Linked DNA regions of Homo sapiens: all the other regions are linked to region 3. The links are contacts of gene promoters, found by promoter capture Hi-C in blood cells and fetal thymus (Javierre and others, 2016). All regions are on one chromosome and are shown on one strand. Each heading gives the region's core, a stretch centred on a gene start or on the middle of the fragment in contact. The rest is flanking DNA. Distances are from core to core; before and after follow the strand shown.

Region 1 (3,810 bases), core at 426-2,925, 830 kb before region 3:
TAATATATCACCTAATCTTCCCAGCAACAATACCCTTCTTCCTCCAAGCTTACCGAAAGAGCTGATAGAAAAAGAGAAAGCTTTAAAAAAATCATAAGACACAACTGGAGTTTCCCATGTTCTCTGATCAGTCTTGGGGAAAAACTAGTGGGCCCAGACCTGTCTGAGAAGGAGCCTGGTCCATGTGAGAAACCTACAACCTTCCCTTTATTTAATAGGATGGCAAGACACTGCAGGCCAGAAATAAAGAGAACTGTAAGGCAGAATAATAAGTTTCAGCCTGAACAATTCAGAAAAAGAAAATCCAGAAGTGAAACTATATTCCAGAGAAAGAGGACATCACGTTTGCTGTACAAGGTAGGCTTGTTTCAAGCACCTAGGAATGAGCACCAATGCACACCACAATGGGTCACAGAGGAGAAAATGCAGCAGACAACAGAAGTGTGCAAGTGGAGGGAAGAGCATAAAGGAGAAACGTGAAAAGCCCTGCAGACAGACAGTAACCTGTGAGAAAGGCATGGTCTCCTCAAGGTGAAACTGACTCAGCTTAACGGAATCCCTGAAACTGACAACAGATACATAATTAAACAATGCAACTATATAGAGGCAAAGGCCTGCTACGAAATCAATTCTGGAAATACAAAATGTCTTCAAGAAACCCACAATGACAGACATATGGCCACAAGGGGTTCCTGTGAACAGCAGAGTTCTTCAGGGGTGGCCATCTACCCAGATGGGAGGGAGTCCCAACATCTGCTAGGGTCTCACCAAAAGGATTATCCACACTGCCAAGAAGTGGATGGAAACACAGGTGGTTGTGTATTGAGGAGATATGTACAGCTGCTCAATTCCCTGGAAGAGTGAGCACCTGCCAGACATTGGCTGGAGCTGCTGAACAAAGCTCATTTCTCCTGCCAAAGAAAGTAGAATTTACAAAGAGCTGAGGAGATCATAAATTCATGGTGAATATATCTAGTGTAGACAGGGATTTTGGGGAAGACAAAAATGTTAATGTGATGAAGTAGGGATTCTTCATCAGTCTAAATGGTTGCTTAATATGGTTAGATAAACATTCCAAAACATGGAGATGTTTTAAAGGGCAGTCTGAATTTCAGTGCCAAAATTAAGTATACTTTGTACCTTCTAAACACAAATCAGCACATAGTCAACAATTAGGAGTACTAGATTTCAAAAAGCTGAATTTTTTTATTTACACGCGCTTACCTCAAATACTGAAAGGTCTTTCCTTCGGTAAATTTCATTTGCTGGAGGATGAAACCATCCACACTTCTTGGAGTGTCTTAGCAAAATATTTTTACTTTTCATATATTTAAGACAGAATTCACACAGGTAAAGCTTTGGTAATCTGTTAAAGTTTAAAAATCATAGAATCTATCAGATAGATTATACTGTTGGGGGGAAGATTAAATATTGTTCAATTTTCTCTACATCATAAAAAGGCTGTATAATAACATTGGAGGCTGGGTGCAGTGGCTCACACCTGTAATTCCAGCACTTTGGGAGGCTAAGGCAGGCAGATCACCTGAGATCAGGAGTTTGAGACCAGCCTGGCCAACATGGTGAAACCTCATCACTACTAAAAATGCAAAAATTAGCTGGGCGTGGTGGCACATGCCTGTGGTCCCAGCTATTTGGGAGGCTGAGGCAGGAAGATCGCTTAAGCCCATGAGGCGGAGGTTGCAGTGAATCGAGATTGCACCACTGCGCTCCAGCCTGGGCAACAGAGTGAGACACCGTCAAAAAAATAAAGAAAGAAAGGAAAGAAAGGAAAGAAAGGAAAGAAAGGAAGAAAGGAAGGAAGGAAGGAAGGAAGGAAGGAAGGAAGAAAGAAAGAAAGAAAGCCAGCCAATAGTAAAGACAGAATGTAAAAACAACCATACATTATTTTTTAATATAATCCATAATATGTGCTCCCTTTACTTTGTGAACAAATAATTTGTTTCCTTAAAAATATCCTATATAAAGAAAGCTTTACAGATGTGGAACCACCACCCTAAAAAATCAACTTAATAAGGATATCATCCTGTCAAGGGACCAAGCATATTTTTCAAAATTCACATTTACTATCTTATTTCCAATTATATATGGTTAGTGGTATAGATATAATATCTTACTCAGAAGTGAATTTATTATTTTAAACAATCTGCATACATATGAGGCTGAAAAGTCCTCAAACTTAGTTGTTACCATTTCCACCTCTGGAAGAGGTAACTTTAAAGTTATTATCAGAGATTTATATATGGTCTAAATGCAGTAAATAGCACGGCTGAAAATCAAAAGACCTAATTTGTTTTCTACCAATTCCACTGTTACTTTGAGTAAAAGACAAACACCTCTCTTCCCTGCTGACTTTTTCTCCACCTTAAAAATCAGAACATTTTTTATTTCCATATCTTAATGAACATGGCTGGTATTTATAAGAAAATGTTTAGAAGCACTTGCAAGGTCTTTGGAGTATAAGAATGGGGAAAAAGGTTTTCAAGAGAGAGGCAGACACAGGTGAGACTACTTTCAAATCTTGCACTTATGTACAAATTTTATTCAAATCTTTCAGAGCACATGGCTTATCATTACCTATGCAAATTAAAGCTCATAGTCTTTTAAAATTGTTCAAGAACACACAACCAAATGGTATAAGGAAGGAGAAACCAAAATTCTTGACTCTTATTTTGTCACTTAACTTTTAGAAAACACTTAGCATTTTCTCCAGTTACGTGATTGGCCAGACACTCACATGCTAACGAAAAAAAATAAGATCTATTCTATAAGAAAATCAAGTTTATAAATACTGAAAACTTTGCAGACTAAAAAATTTTTGAAGATACTAGTAAAGTGTACCCTGACATACTTTATGGAAGACATCTATTCTCAATGTACCCATTTTGGGATATATTCGTTCACAGGCTAATCTTGAGTTCAAGACAAACAAAAACTTGGATACCATTATTTTCTCCTTTTTATTTTTTATTTTTTGAGATGGGATCTTGGTCTGTCACCTGAGCTGGAGTGCAGTAGTGCAATCTCGGCTTACTGCAACCTCCACCTCCTGGGTTCCAGTGATTCTCCTGCCTCAGCCTCCCGAGTAGCTGGGATTACAGGCATGTCCTATCACGTCTGGCTAATTTTTGTATTTTTAGTAGAGATGGGGTTTTGCCATGTTGGCCAGGCTGGTCTTGCACACCTAACCTCAGGTGATCCACCCACCTTGGCCTCCCAAAGTGATGGGATTACAGGAGTGAGTCACCGGGCCTGGCCTTCTCTTCAAAGTCACAAATGTTCTAAAGTAAAAATTTGGGGAAGGGTCTCTTAAGACTACCCATTCCCACTTACTTTCTCCCATTTTTCCTTCTTTTGCTAAATTTCTATTAAAAACTTGAAAATAAAATGCCAGAAATCAGAGATAAAAGTAACAGGCCTAATTAAAAAATATAAAAGACAACTGGAGAAGAAAGTCTACCCAATAATTCACCATGGCAAATTTCTTTTTTTTTTTTTAATTTGGTTTCATACAAAACCAACATTTCCCCAATTAACCAAGGAAAGAAAGCACAATCTAGAAGCTAAATGGCAAAATTTATAATGCCCATGTAACTAAGGAGCATAAGGAATTTACCGAGAACAAGGAATACCATAAAAAGGTGCTGGCAAAAGCAATAGTTTGGGAAGCACTTGGCATTGACTACCAAAATTTATTTCCTAAAATCATCCCTAATTCCTGCTTTAGAATCAAGAATTTTCCTTTCTCACATATGTGACATTCAAGTTATACACCTGCCAGACTTATTCCAT
Region 2 (3,971 bases), core at 858-3,357, 850 kb before region 3:
ACCAGTGCTGATGGTTTATGTTCTAATAAAATAAAATTGTCCCTAAGAATCACACACTAGAAGGGAAAGCACATTTTAAAAGTTCTTCCCGTCATAATTAATTTAACATTTGTTCAACAATTAATAAGAACCTACTAAGCGCCAGGCTCTTCTAGAAGATCAGAATGCAGCAAAGAGCAAAGTCCACACTCTCATGAAGCTTACTTTTGGTGAAAGACATGGGCAATCAACAATAAATACAGTCATGCACCACATAATGATGTTTAGGTCAACGATGGACCACATATTCAATGGTAGTCCCATAAGATTATAACAGCATATTTTTACTGTACCTTTTCTATATTTAGATATGTTTAGATACAAAAATACCATTATGTTACAACCACTAACACCTACGGTATCCAGTACAGTAACTGCTGTCCAGGTTGGTCACCTAGGAGCAATCAGCTATGCCACATAGCCTAGGTGTGTAGTAACCTATAGACTTCGACTTAGGTCTGTCTAAGTACATACACTATGATGTTCACACGACAATGAAGTTGCCTAATGGTGCATTTCTCAAAATGAATCTCAGTTTTTAAATGATAAATGACTGTATATAAAAGACCTATGCAAGTTTATAAATGACTCTGCACTTGCTTAGCCTAGTTTGTTGTTGTTTTTTTTTTTTGGTTAGTGCCACTAAAAAGAGAGAGAGAGAGAAAACTAAATAACACAAGTCCCTAAGAGATGCTGTCATGGTCCCTCCAAACACATTTCTGAGGCTTGTTTGTGGGGCCTGTAAGTGGGGAAAGTGGAATATTTACTCTGCAGCCTCCCCCAGACAGACTTTATGATTCAAGTGAGTGCTTCATGATCTCCCTCATCATGTATATGACAGAATTTACACAGCTCCTGAGGCTGCTAGAGGTGAGGTGACAGGCACTGGAGCTCTGGACACCCAGGAGCAAAGGGAGCAATATCTCTGCTACCCATACCCATCCTCAGGTCCTGTCTTGGGAGGCACAGCCCTAAGCTGACCACACGGTGCAGAGACGGCCAGAGACCCTTGCTGGAGAGCACAGTTTCTCACCAGGGCCTTGAGGCTGGGATGCAGCTCCTGAGGGTAAGCCATGTGCCCTGATACTGTGCTCACCCTGCCCTCTGGGAGAAGCCGGTGGCTCCTGCACAGCCCTGGTTCCAGGGGGCGTAATACAGTCAGGTGAAACGGCTTACTGGAATCCAACCAACTGGACTTCTAAATGAAAACTCCTGTTTTCCAGAGGAGATAGGCCAGTGGGTATCAAACATTTATTTCAAGAAGGCAATTTTCAGGTAGGATGAAACCACTTAGTCTCTACTTAAAAACACTCTTAAGTTTCACTTAAATTGTATTTTGAAAAGCTTGTAAGTGGAAGCTCTTTTAAACAAAATAGCCCACTGAAGGCAGACTGTGAAAACTAGTAGTAGCTGGCAACCTGAACTACTATGACACGTACTTCTGTATTTAGCCATCATATAATACAACATTTAAACCAGTAGCTTGCATCTAAGATTCTGGGAAGAAGCAGCTTTCTCTCTGAGAGAGTGGATATGATTAGCCTCCTGACATGATACCCCCCTGGGTAGAAATGAAGTATGTGGCTTTCTTCCTAATTCGCTTTATGGACTTAAAAGGGCAGAGAAGCAGGGAGCAGGAAACCAAAGAGAAGATGCTTTTCTCTTCCAATGCGGTGCTTCCTCAAGAAATCAGCCAAGAACTATTCAGAGGCTAAAGGAGAAACAAGCCCGGGGATCTCTACGGACGTGGGTGGTTGTGGCACCTAAAGAAGAAATCTCTGTCATTAAACCAGAGGAGGAAAGAACGACGGTGCAGAAAACCACACTGATTAATACTCAAGTGAGAAAGGAACTAAGGTACTAAATCATACCCTAAAGCATCTTTCCTCAAAAGTTTATTGTAGTTCCTGCTTTCCTTAAATCCGGTTGGCTGTATATGTGTGTGGGGGGCAGGGGTGGAGGGGAGTATCATTTCTAAAAAAGGGGACATGTAGAAGGACGCTGCAAACCACACTGAAGACAAGAGCCAAATTCATAACCTGGAGGCACAAAACTGGGCCATTTGCACCATCTTCTAGCAGCGCTGATTAATTATAGACTCAGTTTTTAAATAGCACACGGACCTCACAAAAGCTAAGGTGAAACCCTCAACATATGAAGAGCCAGCAAAGGGAATTCCCCGAAGTGAATGCCTAATTCATTCAATCACTTCTGCTTCCTATAGTTACAGCCTTGTTCCATGAAGGACTGCCCAATATTTTAATACTGAATAAAGAAAGCCAAAAATTGAAACTGCTGACACATTTTTATGATTATTCCACAAACATACTAATTTTAGAAATGCCTGAATGTACAATTAACTGATATTTAACTTAACTGACGAACTTGCCATTAATTAATATTAATGGCAAGTTTATCTGGTCTCTAAAAACTATAGACGTAAGTCTGTAGACTTGGATCCAGCTGTCCTTTACCCTTTATAGCGTTAGTTACACGTCCGTCTGCCCCCGATAAAAAAGAAAAAGTTAATCTGAGATTTAGAACCCTTATAGTTCTAGTTAGTAGGTTTAAGTATTTTAGTTAGGAGAGAATGTTGAATTTCATCAAATGCCAGATCAGACTTTGTAATAAACCACCTGCCTGGATGTTGCTTTTTGTTTTCCCCTCGATTTTTTCCATCAGCGCTGCTCTTTCTTTTCCCTACTGATGTACATACACATGCTCCAGGCTCTCCAGCTTAAAAATAAAGACAACTAGGTTCCTGTGTCCCCAGCCCTTGACAGTCAAGCTTTTGTTTTGTTTTGTTTTGCTTTGTTTTAAAAAAAGAAAAAAAAAAAAAGACAGAGTCTTGCTCTGTCGCCCAGGCTGGAGTGCAGTGGGGTGATCTCAGCTCACTGCAACCTCTGCTTCCCAGGTTCAAGTGATTCTCCTATCTCAGCCTCTTGAGTAGCTGGGACTACAGGCACATGCCACCACATCCATATTTTTGTATTTTTAGTAGAAATGGGGTTTCACCATGTTGGCCAGGCTGGTCTTGAACTCCTGACCTCAAGTGGTCCACCTACCTCAGACTCCCAAAGTGCTGGGATTACAGGCGTGAGACGCTACGCCCAACCAAACAGAATAAAACAGTCAAAAGCTTTTTGAATCTACTTTTAATCGCACTTAATATACAGTTGTCCAAAGAATACTTCTTATGACTTTCTCTCTGGGGCACTGAATCTCTGGGGGATGATCTTAGACAAGTCTCTTAGTGTCTCGTCCCAGAAGAGAGATGGTCACAGTAACCTACCCCATAGGGTCTCCGTGAGGACTAAGTGAGTAAATGTGTGTAATTCCGGTAACAGTGCCTGACACATAGCAAGGGCTCTAGAAGTGGCAGCTATGATGATTATTGTGACTGTTACTGTTGAAATACTGACCTCTTCTGGTTTTCCTAACACCATTATCTCCCAATTTTCTTCTGACTTCTGGGCCCTTTGCAAATTTCCTTGGCGAGCTCCTCATTCTTTATTAGTCCCTTAGATGTTAACACTCCAAGCACTCCACCCTCAGCCCTGTTTCCCTATACACTTCCCCCTGGTTGCCCTCACCCACATCCATGGTTTCAGCTACCACCGCATGTCCACGACTCCCAGCTGCTCCCTCTAATGCAGACCCCCTGCTGAGCTCTGGAGTCTGTGCAAAGTGCACGTAGACATCCAAACGCACAGTGAAAGCTACATAAAGCTGCGCTCACTATCTCTCCAAGCTCAGTTATGCATTCAATAAATACCAGTATTTTCTGAGCACCACTCTGCACCAGGCATGCTCCTGCTACGGAACGAACAGGACCTGCCTCTTTTCCATGCATCCTCACTGTCAGGCCTCCATTGACTCTGGCCTCTTTTCTTTTTAGTTACAGCAAAAAGTATAAATAAGAAAATAAAAAG
Region 3 (3,535 bases), core at 860-3,359:
CCCAGTACTCAAGTGTCTAATCTTTTAACTTCATGTCTACAGGTGGCACTAAATTCATATTGTATAAAGTGAATTTTAGTTGCCTAAGGAATGCTCTCACCACAGCCTCACAAAGCACCAGGACTGCAGGTATAAGAAAACATGCTCAGCTAGTTCCTATTTCTGTTCCTGTACTAATTGTTTTATTTGGGCTTCAATATCTTCAATTGTAAAATAGGCATAATTCTTGCCTTCCTTTGATCACAGAACTGTCCAACAAGATAATAAATAGGAAAACACAGTGAAAATGGATCAGCATTATATATAATAATTTTTATTAAGGAAAAATCTAAGGAAATCTAAGGGTTATATGTTCAGTAGGATGGTAGGGAAAAGTTGCATCTGTCTTCCAGTTTGGCGAAGGAGGTGCCTTATAAGGAAATACTCTAATAAAGGGCAGAGTAGGGAAAGCACATGCCTTGAACTCAGGTAGGTCTGATTCAAAAGCCGTTGCTTTTTATTCTGCATATAGTTGGAATATTTAAAATAAAAATAGAATATCCTGAGGGTTTTTATTTTAAAGTTTATGTTCTTGGTATAAGGTAGGCACACTAACCCTTTGAGGGTAGTAGGAATACATTAAAGGAACTGGCAAGGATTTGTTCACCCTCCATTCAAAGCAGCATGAACACACCACCAGGCCCCTAAGTGTCCTTTTCTTTTCAATTGTGAGTGATTCCTTCCTTTGGAGGTGAAGAAGAGTGATACTGGAAGAAATGGGATATGTCCTGTTTAATCAGGAGTGTCCTAATAGTTTTAAATCAGTTTGATATGTCTATTTTAAGATGGAAAAAAAAATCGCTGCCTTTCAGCGAACATTTCCAAATCATCAAAGACTGCCTGCTTCACTTTATACTTATTAGGAAGGGATATTTTAACAAATGACTCTTCATAAGTAAAAGTTGCAACATCAATCACATGTGAGGCAGGTGTTAGGGGCAGCACTGTCCCCGTTGCTGCCAAAAAGTGTAAATAAAAAAGAGAAATCAACCTTTCCTATCCATTCATCCAAATGCTGCCCCTGCAAAGCATCGGAGGGGTCTGGGTCCCTGGTAGAGGGTCCTCAAAGGTACGGGCTTTCAGAATGTGCACGAAAAGGAAGGTCAACGTGCCCTTCCGCAACACTCTGAAAAATCCCCAAGAATTCTGACTTTGCCCCAGTGTACAGCAGTTGCCGAGCCTCTTTCCCGCCATCCCCCGGGAAGAGAAGGCGGCCGCCTACAGACGCTGCTCCGGTCCGACCCTCCGGGGTCGCACCAGCCCAGCCTGGGCTTGCTCGCAGGTGGCGCGGTCAGCCAGCTCGGTCCCCCTGCGGGCCACGACTGGCGAAGGGCTGCTGGAGCCGGAGCTGCACCAGACAGGCGGGGACTCAGCCAAACGGAGAGAACGTCTGGCAAGGGGTCGCGGCCAAGCGGGCAGCTGGGGGAGGTCCTGCGTGTTGGCCCCAAGCTGGCAGTGAGAGACACCACCCAGCGTCGGGGCCGTGCAACCCCACGTGGGCCCTGGCTTGCTTGCAGCGCCGTCACCCTCCTCCCCAAGTCCGGCAGCGCTCACCTCAGCGCTTGCGGCGCCTCCACCTTCAGCTTTTTGGGCTTCGGCTCCTCCTCAGCAGCTGCCATCTTCGCGCTCCCACCCCACTTTGGCTCTACAGCCCACCTCTGCCATCCACTCTCTGGTCCCGCCCCCTCTTCGCATCACCGCTTTCTCTTCTCCAAATCCCGCCCCTCCAGACTCCGCCCATTCTGTGCCGCTGTCATCCACAATCATTGGCTCTATCCGTCGGCACCAACAGCGAATGCCCCGCCCATTCCTGACCCCGCCTCCCCTACCATGAGGGACCCCAGACTGCGTTAGGCAGCAGATGACCGCCTGAATCTAGATGGAGAGAAACCCACCATTTTTCTAGGCCCTGGATTATGTAGAAGATTTAGATACTAAGCCTCAAGAGACGTCTTTCCTCTCATTTACGGTCTTCCTGCATATTTAAAATTTCTAATACGGTAGACAGAGTCGGTGTCTTTGAAGCTGTTAATCAGGCAATTTCCTGGGCACTCCAGCTGCGGGTCCTCGCGGCCTTCTCGGCTTCTCCAGCTTCGGTAGGAGAGGATCCGGCGCCGAATCACTGACTGGCACAGGTGTTGGGGTGAGTGTGAGGGGCGGGAAATCTGTGGACTGGGGACAGCTCCAAAACCCGGGAGTAGGCTGAATAGCTGGGGCCCCCGACTCCGATCTGGGCTCTAGGAGCGTCTTTGGTGCTGTTGGCCCGGGCCTCGCTTCCCCCCCACTCCCGGCCTTCCGGGCTTTCTCGCCAGCAAGGCCAGAAGGGAGCGGTCCACCTGCAGCCCAGTGTTCTCAGGCGCCTGAGCCCCGGAGGTCAAGCTTACTGGGTTCCCCCTCTATAGTGAGCTGGAGTACAGACGGCAGGAATCTCAGTCCCAGGTTTCTGCTTTGGAGGACAAAACCCCAAACGGACCTGAGCAGACGTCCTGTTAGCGGGTGGTGCCTGGAAGAGCCTGGGGTGAGGAATGCAGTGAGAAGGGTGTTGCAGTTCTTCAGGAGAGAGGTAACGGGGTTCTAAGCTGAGCAGGTGGCAGTGAGTGTGGAAGAGTGACGGGCGATGTGGCTGTTTGTATTTGGTAGATTTGTTTGAACCTGAAACTTACAGCCTTATGTGTGATTAAGAAGATGGTGCCAGTGACAGGAGGAGGTATTTTATGGAGTTTGAGTTTTATCGAATTTGAAACAGTGGTTTACATGGAGATTGTAGAAAGACTTTAAAAAAAATTATGAGAATTAAGCCCGAAAGACTTTCAAGGTGAGACCCAAAACAGATGAAGTTTCATATAAAAGGGTAAGAAGTATTTTTGTTTAGGAGAAAGTTATCAATGACATAAAATGCTGCAATGGTCAGAGGAGGAAGCTGAAATCAGAATAGGTCGTTGGATTTTATAATTAGAAAGTCATTGAGCTGTTTGAGAGAGATGCTTTAATAGTAACTGAGGAAAGACTGCAAGTGTAGACCAATCCTTCATCATTTGGGGCATGAAGCAAGATTATTGAGAGTGGCAAGGTGGGGGAAAGTTTGGGGTTTGTTTTAAAGAATACAAGATATCTATTTGGGGGCAGGAAGCAAGCAACTATTTGAAGATTCAAGAAAAAGTCTTGTCTCCCAGAAGAGAAGGAAAGGAATGGGATCAAGTTACAAGTGAAAGGATTAATTTGGGAAAGACAGAGGGACACTTTCAATTGACACTATAGGAGAAGTGAAGTGAATGAGGTTAATGAAGAATTATCTTAATTTACGAATCTTGGCCAGGCGCGGTGGCTCACGCCTGTAATCTCAGCACTTTGGCAGGCTGAAGCGGGCGGATCACAAAGTCAGGAGTTCGAGACCAACCTGGCCAACATAGTGAAACCCTGTCTCTACTAAAAATACAAAAATTAGCCAGGTGTGGTGGCACACGCCTGTAGTCCCAGCTACTTGGTAGGCTGAGGC
Region 4 (3,776 bases), core at 68-2,567, 990 kb before region 3:
CGTAGGCCCAGTGAAATATCATTCACAAGCAAAGGCAAATACTTGTTCAGACACACAAAAGCTGATTTCATCACCAGCAGACATGCACTACAAAAATTTAAGGTCCTTCAAGCAGAAAGAAAATGTTACCATACCAAAATATGAATCTACACAAAGAAATGAACACCAAAATGGTAGCCACATGCATAAATATATACATTTTTTCTTACTATTTAAGTTAGTTAGTTTATTTATTTATGAGACAGAGTCTCACTCTATCACCCAGCCTGGAGTGCAGTGGCATGACCTAGGCTCACTGCAACCTCTGCCTCTGGGTTCAAGAGATTCTCCTGCCTCAGCCTCCCCAGTAGCTGGGATTATGGGCCCGTGCCACTGCACCAGGCTAATTTTTGTATTTTTAGTAAAGACGAGATTTCACCATGTTGGCCAGGCTGGTCTTGATCTCCTGACCTTGTGATCCACCCGCCTCGGCCTCCCAAAGTGCTGGGATTACAGGCGTGAGCCACCGCGCCCAGCCGCAGTACCAGCTTTTAACTTTGCTTGTTGTAAGGAAGCACAGAAAGTTTTTAATAGCCAACAATGCACTTATAAGGCCATGATAAACACTCAAATCAAGAATTATTACATTGTGGGAAAAGGAAGAGGATGCTGTCCTCATTCATTTGTCCTTCAGGATAGAAGGATATTCATTTGTATTGATGTTTTGTTTGGTTTTTCAAGACTCCTGACCTCAGGTAATCTGCCTGCCTCGGCCTCCCAAAGTGATGGGAGGCACTGCACCCGGCCTTAAGTTTCTTTAAAAGATAATTTAGGCCGGGTGGTGGCTCATGCCTGTAATCCCAGCACTTTGGGAGGCCGAGGCGGGCGGATCACATGGTCAAGAGATCGAGACCATCCTGGCCAACATGGTGAAACCCCGTCTCTACTAAAAATACAAAAATTAGCTGGGCGTGGTGGCACGCGCCTATAGTCCCAGCTACTCAGGAGGCTGAGGCAGAAGAATCGCTTGAACCTGGGAAGCGGAGGTTGCAGTGAGCCAAGATCGTGCCACTGCACTCCAGCCTGGTGGCAGAACAAGACTTCGTCTCAAAAAAAAGATAATTTACTGTTTAAACAAAAAGCAATGTACTGTGGGATTTATAACATATGTAAAACATATGTTAACAATAGCACAAAGGTTGGGAGAAATGGAAATCCACTAATATCAGCTAAAATAATACCACCAAGAAGCTAAAGAGAAAATTAAACCCAAAGCAGAAGGAAATAATAATGATGAGGGCAGAAATCAATAACAAAGGCTGGGCATGTTGGCTCATGCCTGTAATCCCAGCACTTTGGGAAGCTGAGACAGGCGGATCACCTCAGGTCAGGAGTTTAAGACCAGCCTGGCTAACATGGTGAAACCCCATCTCTACTAAAAATACAAAAATTAGCCAGGCATGGTGGTGGGTGCCTGCAATCCCAGGTACTCAGAAGGCTGAGGCAGGAGAATTGCTTGAACCCAGAAGGTGGAGGCTGCAGTGAGCCACCTGGGCAACAGAGTGAGACTCTTTCTCAAAAACAAAAATAAAAATAAAATTTTTTTAAAAAGCAAGTGTAAGGAAAAAAAAAAGATGCAAGGCAAGACCGTCACTCTCACCACTTCTACAAAACATCAGAAGTTCTGGTCAGTGTAATAAGATAAAAAAAAGAAGCAAAAGGCAGGCCAGGCGTGGTGGCTCACGCCTGTAATCCCAGCACTTTGGGAGGCTGAGGCAGGTGGATCATGAGGTCAGGAGATCGAGACCATCCTGGCTAACACGGTGAAACCCTGTCTCTAATAAAAATACAAAAAATTAGCCGGGCATGGTGGCAGGCACCTGTAGTCCCAGCTACTCGGGAGGCTGAGGCAGGAGAATGGCGTGAACCCGGGAGACGGAGCTTGCAGTGAGCGGAGATCGCACCACTGAACTCCAGCCTGGGAGACAGAGTGAGACTCCATCTCGAGGAAAAAAAAAAAAAAAAAGTAAAAGGCATACAGATTAAAAAGGAAGAAATAAAACTCTATTTGCTGACAACTTGATTATTTATGTTGAAAATTCAATAGACTATACCAAAAACAGTTACTAGAATAAGTCAGTTTAGCAAGATTGCCACATATAGTATCGACAAACAAAAATCAATTGTCTTCCTTTCTTTTTTTTTTTTTTTGAGACAGGGTGTCACTCTGTCACCCAGGTTGGAGTGCAGTGGCACGATCTCGGCTCACTGCAACCTCCACCTCCCAGGCTCAAGCCATTCTCCCACTTCAGCCTTCCAAGTAGCTGGGACCACAGGTGCATGCGCACCACACTTGGCACACTTGGCTAATTTTTAATATTTTTGGTAGAAACAGGGTTTTGCTATGTTGCCCAGACCCATCTCGAACTCCTGAGCTCAGGAGATTCACCTGCCTCAGCCTCCCAAAGTGTGGGATTACAGGCGTGAGCTATCACACCCAGCCATCAATTGTATTTCCATATACTAGCAACAAACAATCAAAAATTAAAATGTATAAAATACCATTTATAATAGCATAAAAAATATTAAATACTCAGGGATAAATCTGACAAAACATGGGCAAGACCTATATGCTGAAAACAACAAAAAACACTGCTAAGACGAACACCTAAAAATGAGAAATGAGTAGGTCAGAAGAATCAATACTGTTAAGAGGACAATTTTCCCCAAACTTATCTGCACATTCAACCCAATTCCAATCAAAATCCCAACGGGCCTTTAATTTTGTAGATATTGATACATTTCATAAACAGCTGATTTAAACACTTATTATACAACTACCTGTATTTGTTTTCTATTGCTTTGTAACAAATTACCGTAAGCTTACCGACCACTCGAATTCTTTACTGCATGGCCTCCTCTTTTCCCAAAAATCAGCAGCTTCTTCTGTGTTGAATTCCCTTCCCTTGTACTTGGATTATTTCTCCAGGAAAAGCCCAGTCCCTTTTAAGGGTTTGTCTGATTAGATCAGGTCCACTGAGGATAATCTCCCTTTCTTAGTCACCATGGGAGTGATATCCCATGATTAGGTGGGATTACAGGTCCCTCCCATTATACAAAAGCATAGGTCATTAGGAGTCATTTTAGAATTCTGTATCTTGACAGGGCGGGGTGGCTCAAGCCTGTAATCCCAGTACTTTGGGAGGCAGAGGCGGGTGGATCACTTGGGGTTAGGAGTTCGAGACCAGCCTGGCCAATATGGCAAAACCCTGTCTCTACTAAAAACACAAAAATTAGCCCGGCTTGGTGGTGCTTGCCTGTAGTCCCAGCTAATCAGGAGGCTAAGGCAGGAGAATTGCTTGAACCCGGGGACTTCTGCCTATCTCAGTACTCAAATCAAGACAAAGTGGTGTTAACATAAATCAAGGAAACAGAATATAGAGTCCAGAAACAAACCTATACATATATAGATATCTGATTTTCTACAAATGTGCAAAGGCAATTCAGTGGAGAAAACACAGTCTTTTCATTAAATGATGCTGGAACAAATGGATACCCATATGTAAAAACCTCAATTCATACTTCTACCACATATAAGAATTAACTGAAAATGGATCATAGACCTAACATAAAACCTAAGACTAGAAAATTTCTAGGAGAAAATCTTTCTGACCTGGGTTAGGTAAAGATCTCTTAGATGTGACACCAAAAACAAAATCCATATAAAAACAAATTGATGAATTGGTCTCCATTTCTCTAGGTCGGGGACAGAGGAAGGATTTTTAGGGTTTTTAGTC
Region 5 (3,902 bases), core at 869-3,368, 900 kb before region 3:
GGAGAGGGAGGAGATGGGTAGAAATGTAACAGGGAACAGAAACAGCGGTGAGTACTAGAGGGGAAGGAGCACGGGGTTTGAGTCTTGGCTCTGCCAATTACCAGTTGTGTGACCTTGGACAAATTATTTTACCTCTCTTCACCTTATGTGGCAACAATAATGGGACTTATCTCACTGGGTGAAGATTAAATGAAATCAAACAAATGCTAGAGTAGTATCTGGCAAGTAGTAAATGCTCAGTAAGTGCTTGGTGCTATTATGGATCTGAGAAAGATCACAGAAGACATGGATCTAGGCTCGACTTTTGAAGATGGGTAGGATTTCAAAGAAATTCCAGGCAGAGGAAGCAGGATGGGAATAGCTACAGAGGTGAGAAAAGCAGGGAGATTCATCTGGAATATAGGGGATGAATGTGGTACACTTTCAGAAGGTCCAAGATTAAGCCAAATTCTACTGCTGTGTGGTCAGTTTCGATTAGCTGTGCTAGTCTAATAGCTCACCCCAACATCTTGGTGGCCGGCCACAGCAATGATTCTTTCTCACTCACAATGCAGTCCATGGTGGGCCAGCTCTGCTGCGCTCCCGGCCACTTTACTCTAGGACCCAGGGTGATAGAGCAGCCCTGATTTGAGATCTTGCCAGCCTTGCAGCAGAGAGAAAAGAGAGACCTAGCAAACCATAAGCTGATTTAGAAGTGACACATGCCATTTTTGCCCACATTTCACTGGCAAAAGCAAGTCCACGCCAAAGCCTCATGTCAGTGGGGCAGGAAAGTATAACTAGCGCAGCCAGAGGGGCTGCAAACGTTCTAACAATAATGCCATCTGGCACAGCCTCCTGGTCAGGTGCATTGGCTTTGGGCAGGTTATTTTACCTTTTCCTCAACTTGAAGAATAGTTGGCCAGGCGTGGTGGCTCACGCCTGTAATCTCAACACTTTGGGAGGCCGAGGCAGGTGGCTCGCTTGAAGTCACAAGTTCGAGACCAGCCTGGCCAACATGGCAAAACCCCGCCTCTACTAAAAATACAAAAATTAGCCGGGGATGGCCGGGCGCGTTGGCTCACGCCTGTAATCCCAGCACTTTGGGAGGCCGAGGCAGGCGGATTACGAGGTCAGGAGATTGAGACCATCCTGGCTAACACGGTGAAATGCTGTCTCCACTAAAAATACAAAAAAATTAGCCTGGCATGGTGGCGGGCTCCTGTAATCCCAGCTACTCGGGAGGCCGAGGTAGGAGAATGGCGTGAACCCGGGAGGCGGAGGTTGCAGTGAGCCGAGATCGCGCCACTGCACTCCAGCCTGGTGACAAAGCGAAACTCCGTCTCAAGAAAAAAAAAAAAAAAAAAAAAAGTAGACAAATGCAAATATTATAGTTAACAAAAAAGAAATCTGGAAAGGTAGGTCAGGGCCAGCTCATGGAAGGGTGAATGACGGCCAAGGGACTTTATTCAGAAAACCATTGAGTGTCTGAGCAGAACTGACGTGTTCTAGTTAATCGAGTGCTAGACAATAAAATATGCTTGCCTCCTTGATGTTTGACCTTGAACTTGCTTCTTTCAACCAAGAAAATGGAAAATGTCACTGCCCTTTTAATTCAATCCAACTGTGCCTAATCGAGCCCCAATACAAGCACACACAGGTGTGTGAGACTTTACACCCCCAGCTGAGGGAGGGAGCCTCAAGTCAGCATGGTGTGTGCTTGTCCCTGATTTCTGTGACACTCACTTAACAAGGTTAATGAGACTCACAGACGCTTATTGCAAGAGCAATTAACTCTACCGCCAATGCAGCCATGCAAAGGTTATAAGCTGGGCTGTGAACAGGCAAGGCTGCCTGTGTTTCTTGGTCTCTTTGCAGGGGTTGCCCAAAGCAGCCAAAAGCTCCAAGCTGGTTCCTCATGCACAAAGCCTCAGTTTTAATTTGATATTTACATTTCGGTTAGGTTTTTCCTTTCCCTAAAAGCACCTAAGATTTTTGAAAGCCCAGTACCAAGGCTCTGGAAGTGAAGGAGGTCAGGACCCAGGAGTAAGGATGGATGTCCTGGGATGGCCAAAGCTACTATCTATCCTTGGAGCCCAGGCCAGTGACTGTGGGGCCTGCAGCGGGGCATACTTACCTCTAAGATGAAGCTCACTCTTTTCCTTGCTCCTTTTTGTGGAGATAGGTGGAGCGGCCAAGCATCTGCTCTGGGTCCACAGTGTCTGGACTGAACACTGGTTTCTGTGTGGCCTTGGGCAAGTCACTCAGGCTTTGTGACTTTCAGCTTCTTCGCCTATGTGGATTCTATGCGTTAATGCAAGCAAAACATGTCTCACGGTGCCCAGTACATTCATCAAGTTTGAACTATGACAAATCAGGCAGGTTCTGGAAATTCGATTCACAGTGTATGAGGAAGGTAAAGCACAGTCACTGTGCCTTGCCACCCAGGGTCCCCCATGCTAGGGGAAGCCTTGGGAGAGAAAACAACCCTGGGTCAGATTTCTCCCATGAGAATTCTATCATGACCCAGGGCAGAGTGTTGGAAGGAGGGCCTGCTCTCCTAGGCCTTCCAGGGAGGTGACCTAAGGCCTAAGAAGGCAGCCATATCAAAGTTCCTTGGGCCTGCGGGTTTCAAAATCGCTAAAGCATTTTCTCCATCCCAGGTTAGCTCAAGGGGATTCACCAAGTGGGCTGCCTGGTAATTCCAAGTCCTCACTGCTCAGCAGCCCAGGGAAGGGGAAAGGTGGCCCTGCCAGTGCAGCCTGATGAGAAAAGGCCACAAACAGGAGGGCAACGTGGAGGGTGCTCACTCTGCCGGCTCAGCAGAGGGGTCGAAGGGGTGGGGCCTGGCTGGCCACCTTGCAGATATTCCTGGGGTTCGGGGGAAGTCTTCTTCACACAAGGTGTAGCCACCCACTCCCCACTCATTCCTCTAACTCGATAGGGGTCTGAATCTGCCACAAGTGGAACTGCAGGCTCAGCGTGGAGCGGAGGGCTCAGGCATGACTCGGCACAGCGTCCCAGTCCCCACTGTGTGTGGGTGGCCACCAACTATGGGTGGCCTTTGGCAAAGCATTTTATTGTTCTGGGACTCAGTTTCTTTATTTGTAAAATAAAGGATGATTTCGAAGGTTCCCTTCCAGCTCTAAAATAAAATTATTTAAGAAATGGCCTATTAAATGAATTAGGCTTTATTAGTTTCAAGCACACACTTGTTTTATTACTTTTAAGTCATTCAAATTAGATTCAAATTAGGTTAACCAAGTGTTGTCCTCCAGAGAGCCAGGGACTGGCGTCAATGATGAGATAAGAATAATTCATCACCTCTTATCAATCAGCAGTCCCTAAATGGGTGCTTCAAAAATGCTTGAGTACGCTCGAAAGCACTAAGTTTCTGTAATTTAAATATTCTCACTTTAATCTCGTTCACATCTTTCATTTGCTTAGCAAAATCTTTTTTCAGTCCTTTTTTTCCCTATAGTCAGCAGGAGGGGAAATATCCTGGCTACCATCAAAGTGATTGCAAATTCCTAGGCAGGGCAGCCTCCAGTGATAAGGCTTGGCTGAAACGGGATAATTGAGAAATCTCTCTTCCCTCTCCACAATGCGGGTGTCGGAGAGCCAGTGCCAGGGTGAGGTTAAACTTCTGCTGCTCATGGAATGGTGCGGGCCCTCAGGAGCTCCTTATTTTTGTGTAAACTACAGTTGCCTCCAAGGTCCGGCATTTGGGCTCAGATTCCTGCCAAGGCCTGCAGCCTGCCCCACCCACCCAGCCCAAGCTGGCTTTCCAGGGAACCTCTGTCTTGTCCTTTCTGCTTTTCTGCTTCTGACCAGACCCACAGCCTCAGAAGCCAGAGGCATCGCCACAGCTGGCCTGGCGTTGAGAGCCTGGGAAGTGAAGTGAAGGCAAGTCAGTCAGCTGA
Region 6 (3,987 bases), core at 467-2,966, 880 kb before region 3:
ACCTGCAGAGAGGTGGAATTTGAAGTCATCATACTAGATGAGATGATGAGAGAAAACAGAGAGAACACTCCCGGCCTGAGTGTTGCAGAACATCAATGTTTATAGGTAAGCCTGGGTGGAGGAGGAAGGTCCAGGAAAGGGGATGGAGAAGGTAGAAGGAACGATGGAAACCTGGGTACAGAGAAATGGAAGGTGCTGCTTCATAATGTAACAGTACGTGTACTTTGAGTATCGAAGATTGATTGTAGACCAAGGCTTGCTCGCAGCCACAAAGGGATCTGTATTTATATAGCACTTAACAGTTTTTACAGCAACATGTATTCATTAGCCAAGCCTTTAAATCAGAGAGGTGACAAATTAGGGCCTTTCAGAATACAGTGTCCTAGAAAAAAAGAGCTGGGATTTGGAAAGACCTGGGTTTGTTTCAGCTCACACATTTTAGCTGGGTGAGTTTGGGTAATTAATGTAGCTTAATCTGAGCCTCAACATCCTGATCTGTACATTGGAAAGAATGGCCCCATTTCCTGCACAGGGTGGGTGTGTGGGAGGAGTTTGTGAAAGCTTTGTGACGATATTGTGAGTCATTACTTCTAAAATAGAATGTTGGTGAGGAAGGTGGATGCCCTCCCACCTGGCGTAGGCACCACTTGCAACTATTAAAACGTGAGGCTGGCAACTGACCACCACTTGGTACGACTCTTACAAATAATAGAACACAGTTAGGGTTTAAATGATGTGGCCTGTTAATGAATCTCAATCGAATGAATTCAGCTTTGATGAATCCAAGTTCCTGTTTCGCCAAATCCTTGGCGTCACATTCAGATGTGAACTGATTTCTCTAGTGAGAGTGGGTGAGGTGGAGGGCAGGGTGTTCTGAGGCCATCTCAGATCAGCAGTTTCCTTCCTATGCTAAGCCTTTCTGTTCCATCAAGGAATGTTGGGACTGGGGCCAGCACGGAAGCTCCTAGTCCTAGCTATGCTGCAGTCCTTAAGGAGCCTGGGCAACCGAGGTGTCCCTGGGACTGTTCTAAGATTAGGGTTTGGCAGGTCTGGGGCAATGATTGGGACTCTTCCACAAGCTCCTTTAGAGGGCTGTTAGGCTGGCAGGGTATGGGAACTCAGACATCGCACAAACCACAAGGTGTGATTAGCAGGTCATGGCCAAAGGGAACACAGAGGGGAATCTCAGCCCCCAGAGAATCTTAACCCAAGAGGAAAGAGACAAAATATGTGACAGGTCGGAGCCCGTTCGGGGCTCTGCTTCCCGATCAGATTGCTTCCAGGCCCCAACCCCACCTCCAGGGCTCGGGCAGCCTCTTGCCCGATGTGTGGCCCACTGGGCTGCCCAGTCCTTGGCCACTCCTGAATGGACGCAGTGTTCGATTTGTGCAGGCATAGACCACCACTTCCTACTCTGAGGATGGCTGATAGGTTTCTTTTCCTATTAGCACAGCAGCTTAAATGGATCTTTTCCCTTTGTGCTGACGGCCCTTCAGACGTGTCTTCTTGAAAGCCCTCCCTCAGCTGTTACATATATTACCCCCATTGACTTTGCAGTTGAGGAAGGAAGGGACTAAAAGATAAAATTGTGACACTAAACCCAATACACTTTGTAACTGTGAAAGAAAATAACGATAAGGGTGAGAGTACAAGGCAGAACTCCACTGGGCACCCTCTGTCTGCACAAGGCCTTTTATTCTGGTGTGTACGCTCTATCCTGCCCTTGCACGATTTTGGGTCCACTTTAAGGCTTATGTCTATGCTTTGTAAAACATCTAATTTTTGTGTGTGTGTGTTGAATCAACAGTGCAAAAGCAACTTTTTTCCTCCACAGGGTAGTGACCTGCTTAACAGAGGAGTTGCGAGCACACGTGTTCAGACACCTGGAGAGCTTAACGGGCTAGTTTCACACGGGTGCTAGGTCAAGCATTCATTTCTAGACTTGTTGCTCAAATAACCAAATTCAAGCAACACTCAGAACTTTCTCTGAACGCTATACTTGTGAATATTCACTTTTGGCAGGGGGTCTAAACTTTAGACTCTAAAGAAAACATACAATTAATCATTCACAACAGAGCAAAACGTTCACACTTTTTAAAAAGAAAATGATTTTTCAAACATACAATCCCAAATTGGGTGCTTTTTTTGGTATGAATCTTTATAAAAAGGAAGTTTGCTACCCTGGTGCGAGGCTTGGAGGGATGTTTCTACAGACTGTGCGAGTGAGGCAGCTGGATATTTGTGCGGGATCTCTTTGCAAATGAAGATCAAAGTCCAAAAGAAAAAAACAATTTCACTTTATTTTAAAGACAATGATTGGCATACAGAAGGTATGCACTCGCATAAAATAAACTTTCATGAAAAGCATTAAAATCCATTATAAATTAATTTATTAAATAGGTATTTGGTATATGTGATGGTTTTATTAGATATTACTCTTATTTATTGCCAACCCCTCCCCCAAAGTCAAAACAAATCAGAAAATCCCATAACTCCAATTTACACTAAATAATTTATTTTCCCAAAATGTGTATGTGTTCTGAGGCGTGACACATGATACAGTTCCATTGGTCATTCTCTATCAATCATAATATGACAGGACACAAGAGGCTAAAAATGGCTCATCATAATTTATTTTATGTTAAAATGTACAGCTTTTTTTTGTTTGTTTTTTGTTTTTTTGAAGTGACTGACTAAAAAGAGAACAGATAAATACAAGAGTGTCGCTGGATCCTATTTTATACAAGGATTACGCCTCTCCTGCTTGGCCCTTACTGTCACCCTGTACAGGTACAAAGGCTACAAAAAAGGAAGCAATATAAACAGACACAAATAACTTTTTTGCTTTTTTACATGCGATTTGTAAGCTTAGTTTGAGCTATTCACAAGCTACTTTTCTATTTTTCCTTAAAAAATAACTCCAATATTTTATAAAGATAGAAAAATCTACAGATGGAATGAAAATGTAAAGTTAGAGGCATTTCCATAAAATAGCAACTTTACACCAAATTCACTATTTTTTTTTAAATCCTGCCAAGTATTTGGACATATATGAAATGTTTCAAAACCTGACAGATAAACACTGAGATATGCTTCATTCAATAAACAGAAGTCTGCATTTATAAAACAGAAAGCTGCCTTTTTTCCCCAAAGAAATCTGTCACCAAAATGGAAAAGGGTCTCAACTTTACACCAAACATTTAGCAATAAAACCCTTTTGACTAACCAAATGGGAATAGCTTTTATAGCTCTTTACAGTTTTATAATTAACAAAAATATAGTTTTTTTTAAAACCCTCAAATTAGGGCACCCTAATCAAGGCAAAAAACTTAAGAAATGGCTTACTGTTAGCACAACACTTGTACAGTACTACAAAATGCACTGTCACTAACAAAGACATTAGCGGCATGCTGAAGTGTCACCTTAAACAAAATATACAATAACTGAAATGCTAAAGGCATTTACATGGAGTGGACAGGGAAGGGAAAAAAAAAGCTCTAGGTTCAATATTAAAACAGATAATTTGGGGGGGCTTGATATCCACATTGTTTAACAGAAGCAGGCACAACAAGTGGCTGCCTCCAAATTGTAGTCCAAAGAGAGGCCTTCCTTTGCAGAGAATTTTATATAAAAGTAACAGAAATGAAGGTACCAAAAAAAAGAAAAAGGAAAAAAAGAAAAACAACTTGTATAAGGCTTTCTGCTGCATACAGCTTTTTTTTTTTTTAAATAAATGGTGCCAACAAATGTTTTTGCATTCACACCAATTGCTGGTTTTGAAATCGTACTCTTCAAAGGTATTTGTGCAGATCAATCCAATAGTGATGCCCCGTAGGTTTTGTGGACTGCCCACGTTGTCTACCTTCTCATGTAGGAGCCATTGAGAGACTGTTTGGACATGCCTGTGTTCATGTAGCCGTGATGTCCGGGGGCCGTGTACATCATGTTACCGTGGGGTGGGGTCTGCATTGGCTGCTGGGCATATGG
Region 7 (3,785 bases), core at 78-2,577, 770 kb before region 3:
TCATTCTCATTCTTTGAATTGTTGCCTAATGCAAGCTTTCATTTGGATACACCACTCCCGTTGATGTTTATAGGACTGCCTTGCTATTAACCTCTAACCCAATTAGTCACCAAACTGACAGCATGCATTGCTATTTGGAAGCCAACTGCTTATGAAGGAATTTTTTTTTAGAATCTGAACAAAATGAGCCGTATTATGGCCACTTTATTTATAGTTTTTAACGAAGTATTCCAGGATATCTACAGTGACAAACTCAGGGTAAAAGCAAATCAGGTCCTTTGTGTGCACTGGGCCAGGGAGTGAGGGCTATTTTAAATAAAAATATGTTTTAAAAATTTAAAGGTGTAATCCACCTTCTACCATGGCCATCTCTCCCCTTTACTTCTGTTACCTCTGTTTATCTCAGTGATAGATAACTCCATCCTTCCAGTTATTCAGGCCAATAACCTTGAAGTCTTCTCTTTTTCTAACACTCTGCATCAAGTTCATCAACAAATTCTGCGGGCTCTACTTCAAAATACATCCAGAATCTGTCCTCTTCTCACACTCTCCACCATTACCACTGGCCTAAACCATCATATCTCTTGCTTGTTTTGTGGCAATACCCTCCCAGCTGCCACCTTGGTGCCGCCTACAGCTTATTCTCAACACAGCAGCAGGAAACAGCTTGTTAAAACGTTAAGTCAAATCATGTGCCTCCTCTGTTCAAAACCCTGCAAAGGCATCCATCACTCTCAGCAAAGCCAGAGGCCTGACCTGTGCTGAGACCTTCCTCCCATCTGCTCTCACCTCTTACTACTTGACGACTCTCCCCTCTCTCTCCACGCCAGCCACACTGGCCTCTTATCTGTTTCTCAGACATGTCAAGGGCTCTTTGCACTTGCTGTTCCCTCCATCTAGAACACTCCTTCTCCATGCCTGGAATGCTCCCTCACTTCCCTCAGAAGTCAAGTTAAATGTCACTTTCTTAGAGAGGTCTTTCCTCATCAAACTATTTAAAAAAGCAATGCCTCCCCATCCCATCACTCCTTAATTCCCTTACTCTGCTTTATTTTTCTCCATAGCATTTCTCACAGCTGACATGCTATATACTCACTTACATTATTTGTCTCTTCCCATTAGGATGTAAATGAATTTCATGAGGGCAGAGACTTGTCTGTTTTGCTCCCTGCTGTGTCCCCAGTGCCTACAACAGTGCCTGACATACACCAGGTGCTCAAGAAATAGTGGCTGAATTAATGAATAAATAAATGAATGAATACTAGACTTCCTCCCTTCTACTTCTCCTACTCCTTTTCTATACTACTTCTAATAATAGAATTGTTTGCCCATGACTCATTGATAAAGTTGTCTTGCATTTACTTCTCTAAGATCTATTTCAAACTAACTTATCCTGAGCCCACACCCAATAAATAAACAAGAACTTAAGAAACCAGCTTACTTACCTTCTAACTAAACATTAGGTGCTTGAATCTTTCCAATAACCTCTACCTGTTTCTAAGGGCCTATAATTTCTTCTGCCACAGTGTATAATTCAGCCAGTGTTTCTCAATCCTCAGGCATTCCCAGACCATCCACGGCAATTTTGCTTCATCTGTGTATCACCTGTGCTATTATTTTCTTAACAAGTTTTAAACCTGGCTCACTTTTATTCTTTAAAAAAAAATATGACTACAGAAATGAAGTGTTTGTTCATGAACCACCACTGGAGGTTACATATACCAAACTCTGGATTCACTTGAGCCAAAAAGTTTACCATGGGGCCTGTAATACCTTTAGGATGTAAAACAAACACACATACATACACACACATCCTTTTGCTTAACGCTATGTAAGTTAAAAACTGAAGTCACATTAGAATCAGATCATCTATGGACTCAAAATATATCATGAAGAAATGTCTAAATTCCTAGTCAGATTAATTCAGGCCATCAACACTAAGTTCCTAAAGAAAAAACCTGCCCAATTATCTGCTGGGTCCTTTGTAAAATATTACCTGCTAAAATGCTCTGGTAAAGAGCACACTGGTATGCTTTTCTAGAAAAGTTCTTTTTTTCTGATCACTATTCCATCTACCTAGCCATCTTTCTTCTTTTTTTCCTTTCTTTTAGGAGAGGATTGGTTGGGATGAAGGGCTCCTGGAGGGCACTTCCTAAATTTGACAGGTTTCTTTATAACAGCAATTTTGCAGTTGTTTTCTAGAGCTTTATCAAATTTGACTTCTAAAGCTCACTTTTCTACTTTAGAGAATGATATTAAGAATCCCTGATTAAGGACAATAATCTTCACAAACTAAAAAGCCATCCTTATATTCAAACATGCTTTAAAATGTGAGCAGTATTCTAAACTTGCTGCAGACAACCCATACAATCACATGAGTTATTTTAAGAAAAAGACTCAGTTAGACACATCTACAGAAGCTAATACTAACGTGCTGTTCTTCCAATGAAAAGGTTACTGACCTATCAGTAGGAGTTGTCTTTTCTGGCAGAGATGACAGATTTGCCTTGTCTTATCTCCACCCCCTGCTGTGTCCCCATAATGAGCCATAGCTACATGTGCAAGACAGCTGGCAAGGGGGAGTCAGGGTCTGTGGCCATGGGCCAGAGCAAAGCTTACCAGTCAACCCAGAGCCTGGACCTATGACCGATGTCTCATTAACACCTTGCTCTAAGCAACTGAGCTGTCACAAAAATCAACAGTGGCTTAAGCATTTTGTTTACAAGTGAAACAAATCAGGTCAATCTGACAACCAATAGTTCAAGCAGCCACTAGAAAATTGCCAAAAGGACACAAAAACCAATAGTAAGCAGGAGTGATAAGGGTCTTGCAGTCCTAGCTTGGGAGGTAGCCACACAAGCAAGGATGAGTATGGAAGGGAATGAGACTGTAATAGGCAGGTCTGTTTCTAACATACCAGGCAGTCAATGCATGTTAATTAAAGATAAAAAGAAGAAAGGTATAGCTACAACCCCCTTAGTGATGTCCTTCTTACTCAGTGGTTAGAACAAATGCCTTGATAGATGCCCAAAAAACAGCAAGGGACAGTTCACACTCAGGAGCTACAAGTTTAAAAACATCTATACTTTAAAAATATTTAGAGGCCAGGCACGGTGGCTCATGCCTATAATCCCAGCACTTTGGGAGTTCAAGGCAGGCGGATCACCTGAGGTCAGGAGTTCCAGACCGGCCTGGCCAACATGATAAAATCTTGTCTCTACTAAAAATACAAAATTAGCTGGGCGTGGTGGCAGGCATCTGTAATCCCAGCTACTCAGGAGGATGAGGCAGGAGAATCACTTGAAGCCAGGAGGTGGAGGTTGCAGTGAGGCAAGATCTCGCCATTTAACTCCAGCCTGGGCAACAAGGGCAAAACTCCATCTCAAAAAAAAAAAAAAAAAAAAAAATTTAGACTACAGTGACCCATACACATTAGGAAACCATTTGATCTTAAACCAAAATAAAGGAAAAAATCCACAACAAATCAAGCTCAAAAGAAATAATTATAAACATATTTTCATCACCAAAATTTTGGATTTATGAGCAAGCCAAATAATCTTTCCTTTTAGAGTACACACAAATTAATATGAAGAAAAGCTCCCTGGGCACCATTTTATGCCCAGGGTTTCAGTGGTTAGTCTAATTGGGGCCATCCCACCTTGGGATGGAACAGCAGAGAAGAAAAGAAAAATGGACACAGCCACTATTAAATTATAACAAGTTTCTTTGTTGGGGTATAAAAGCAGTCTTACGAACGAAAAGGAGAAATCACCAGAGTTTGGAGA

What was found. The method cuts DNA at HindIII sites, captures the fragments that hold promoters and counts their contacts. A CHiCAGO score of 5 or more calls a contact.
Region 1: a fragment that was not itself captured here is called in contact with the fragment with the promoter of AP3M1 in region 3 in 1 of 17 cell types (fetal thymus); the score reaches 7.5 in fetal thymus.
Region 2: a contact is called between a fragment that was not itself captured here and the fragment with the promoter of AP3M1 in region 3, in 2 of 17 cell types (fetal thymus and total B cells). The highest score is 5.7, in fetal thymus.
Region 4: a contact is called between a fragment that was not itself captured here and the fragment with the promoter of AP3M1 in region 3, in 4 of 17 cell types (total CD8 T cells, naive CD8 T cells, naive CD4 T cells and 1 more). The highest score is 5.6, in total CD8 T cells.
Region 5: a contact is called between a fragment that was not itself captured here and the fragment with the promoter of AP3M1 in region 3, in 3 of 17 cell types (fetal thymus, M0 macrophages and M1 macrophages). The highest score is 5.7, in fetal thymus.
Region 6: a contact is called between a fragment that was not itself captured here and the fragment with the promoter of AP3M1 in region 3, in 1 of 17 cell types (fetal thymus). The highest score is 5.9, in fetal thymus.
Region 7: a contact is called between a fragment that was not itself captured here and the fragment with the promoter of AP3M1 in region 3, in 1 of 17 cell types (endothelial precursors). The highest score is 5.1, in endothelial precursors.

What each region holds. Positions count from the first base shown.
Region 1 is chr10:74,979,343-74,983,152 of GRCh38, reverse strand. KAT6B (lysine acetyltransferase 6B) reads right to left here. Exons shown (of 18, transcript NM_012330.4): 11 at 1,225-1,366. Among named protein-coding and RNA genes, the nearest start is that of SNORD172, 40 kb to the left of the region's middle. RefSeq lists an enhancer at 550-599. The HindIII fragment of the contact is 634 bases long and covers 1,359-1,992 here.
Region 2 is chr10:74,999,077-75,003,047 of GRCh38, reverse strand. All of the region lies in intron 13 of KAT6B (lysine acetyltransferase 6B), which reads right to left. Among named protein-coding and RNA genes, the nearest start is that of SNORD172, 21 kb to the left of the region's middle. The HindIII fragment of the contact is 1,444 bases long and covers 1,386-2,829 here.
Region 3 is chr10:74,149,402-74,152,936 of GRCh38, reverse strand. It overlaps AP3M1 (adaptor related protein complex 3 subunit mu 1), which reads left to right and starts at 2,109. Exons shown (of 9, transcript NM_012095.6): 1 at 2,109-2,182. It overlaps ADK (adenosine kinase), which reads right to left and starts at 1,716. Exons shown (of 11, transcript NM_006721.4): 1 at 1,594-1,716. The coding sequence starts at 1,658. RefSeq lists enhancers at 1,366-1,545, 1,956-2,185. The HindIII fragment of the contact is 5,595 bases long and covers 1-2,420 here.
Region 4 is chr10:75,139,768-75,143,543 of GRCh38, reverse strand. All of the region lies in intron 1 of SAMD8 (sterile alpha motif domain containing 8), which reads right to left. Among named protein-coding and RNA genes, the nearest start is that of SAMD8, 30 kb to the right of the region's middle. RefSeq lists an enhancer at 1,358-1,857. The HindIII fragment of the contact is 3,092 bases long and covers 1-2,863 here.
Region 5 is chr10:75,049,749-75,053,650 of GRCh38, reverse strand. The region is part of intron 2 of DUSP29 (dual specificity phosphatase 29); the gene reads left to right. Among named protein-coding and RNA genes, the nearest start is that of DUSP29, 22 kb to the left of the region's middle. The HindIII fragment of the contact is 5,055 bases long and covers 1-3,902 here.
Region 6 is chr10:75,030,918-75,034,904 of GRCh38, reverse strand. It overlaps KAT6B (lysine acetyltransferase 6B), which reads right to left. Exons shown (of 18, transcript NM_012330.4): 18 at 2,281-3,987. The coding sequence ends at 3,859. Among named protein-coding and RNA genes, the nearest start is that of SNORD172, 11 kb to the right of the region's middle. RefSeq lists an enhancer at 1,611-1,660. The HindIII fragment of the contact is 2,306 bases long and covers 564-2,869 here.
Region 7 is chr10:74,920,731-74,924,515 of GRCh38, reverse strand. The region is part of intron 3 of KAT6B (lysine acetyltransferase 6B); the gene reads right to left. Among named protein-coding and RNA genes, the nearest start is that of KAT6B, 96 kb to the right of the region's middle. The HindIII fragment of the contact is 2,579 bases long and covers 38-2,616 here.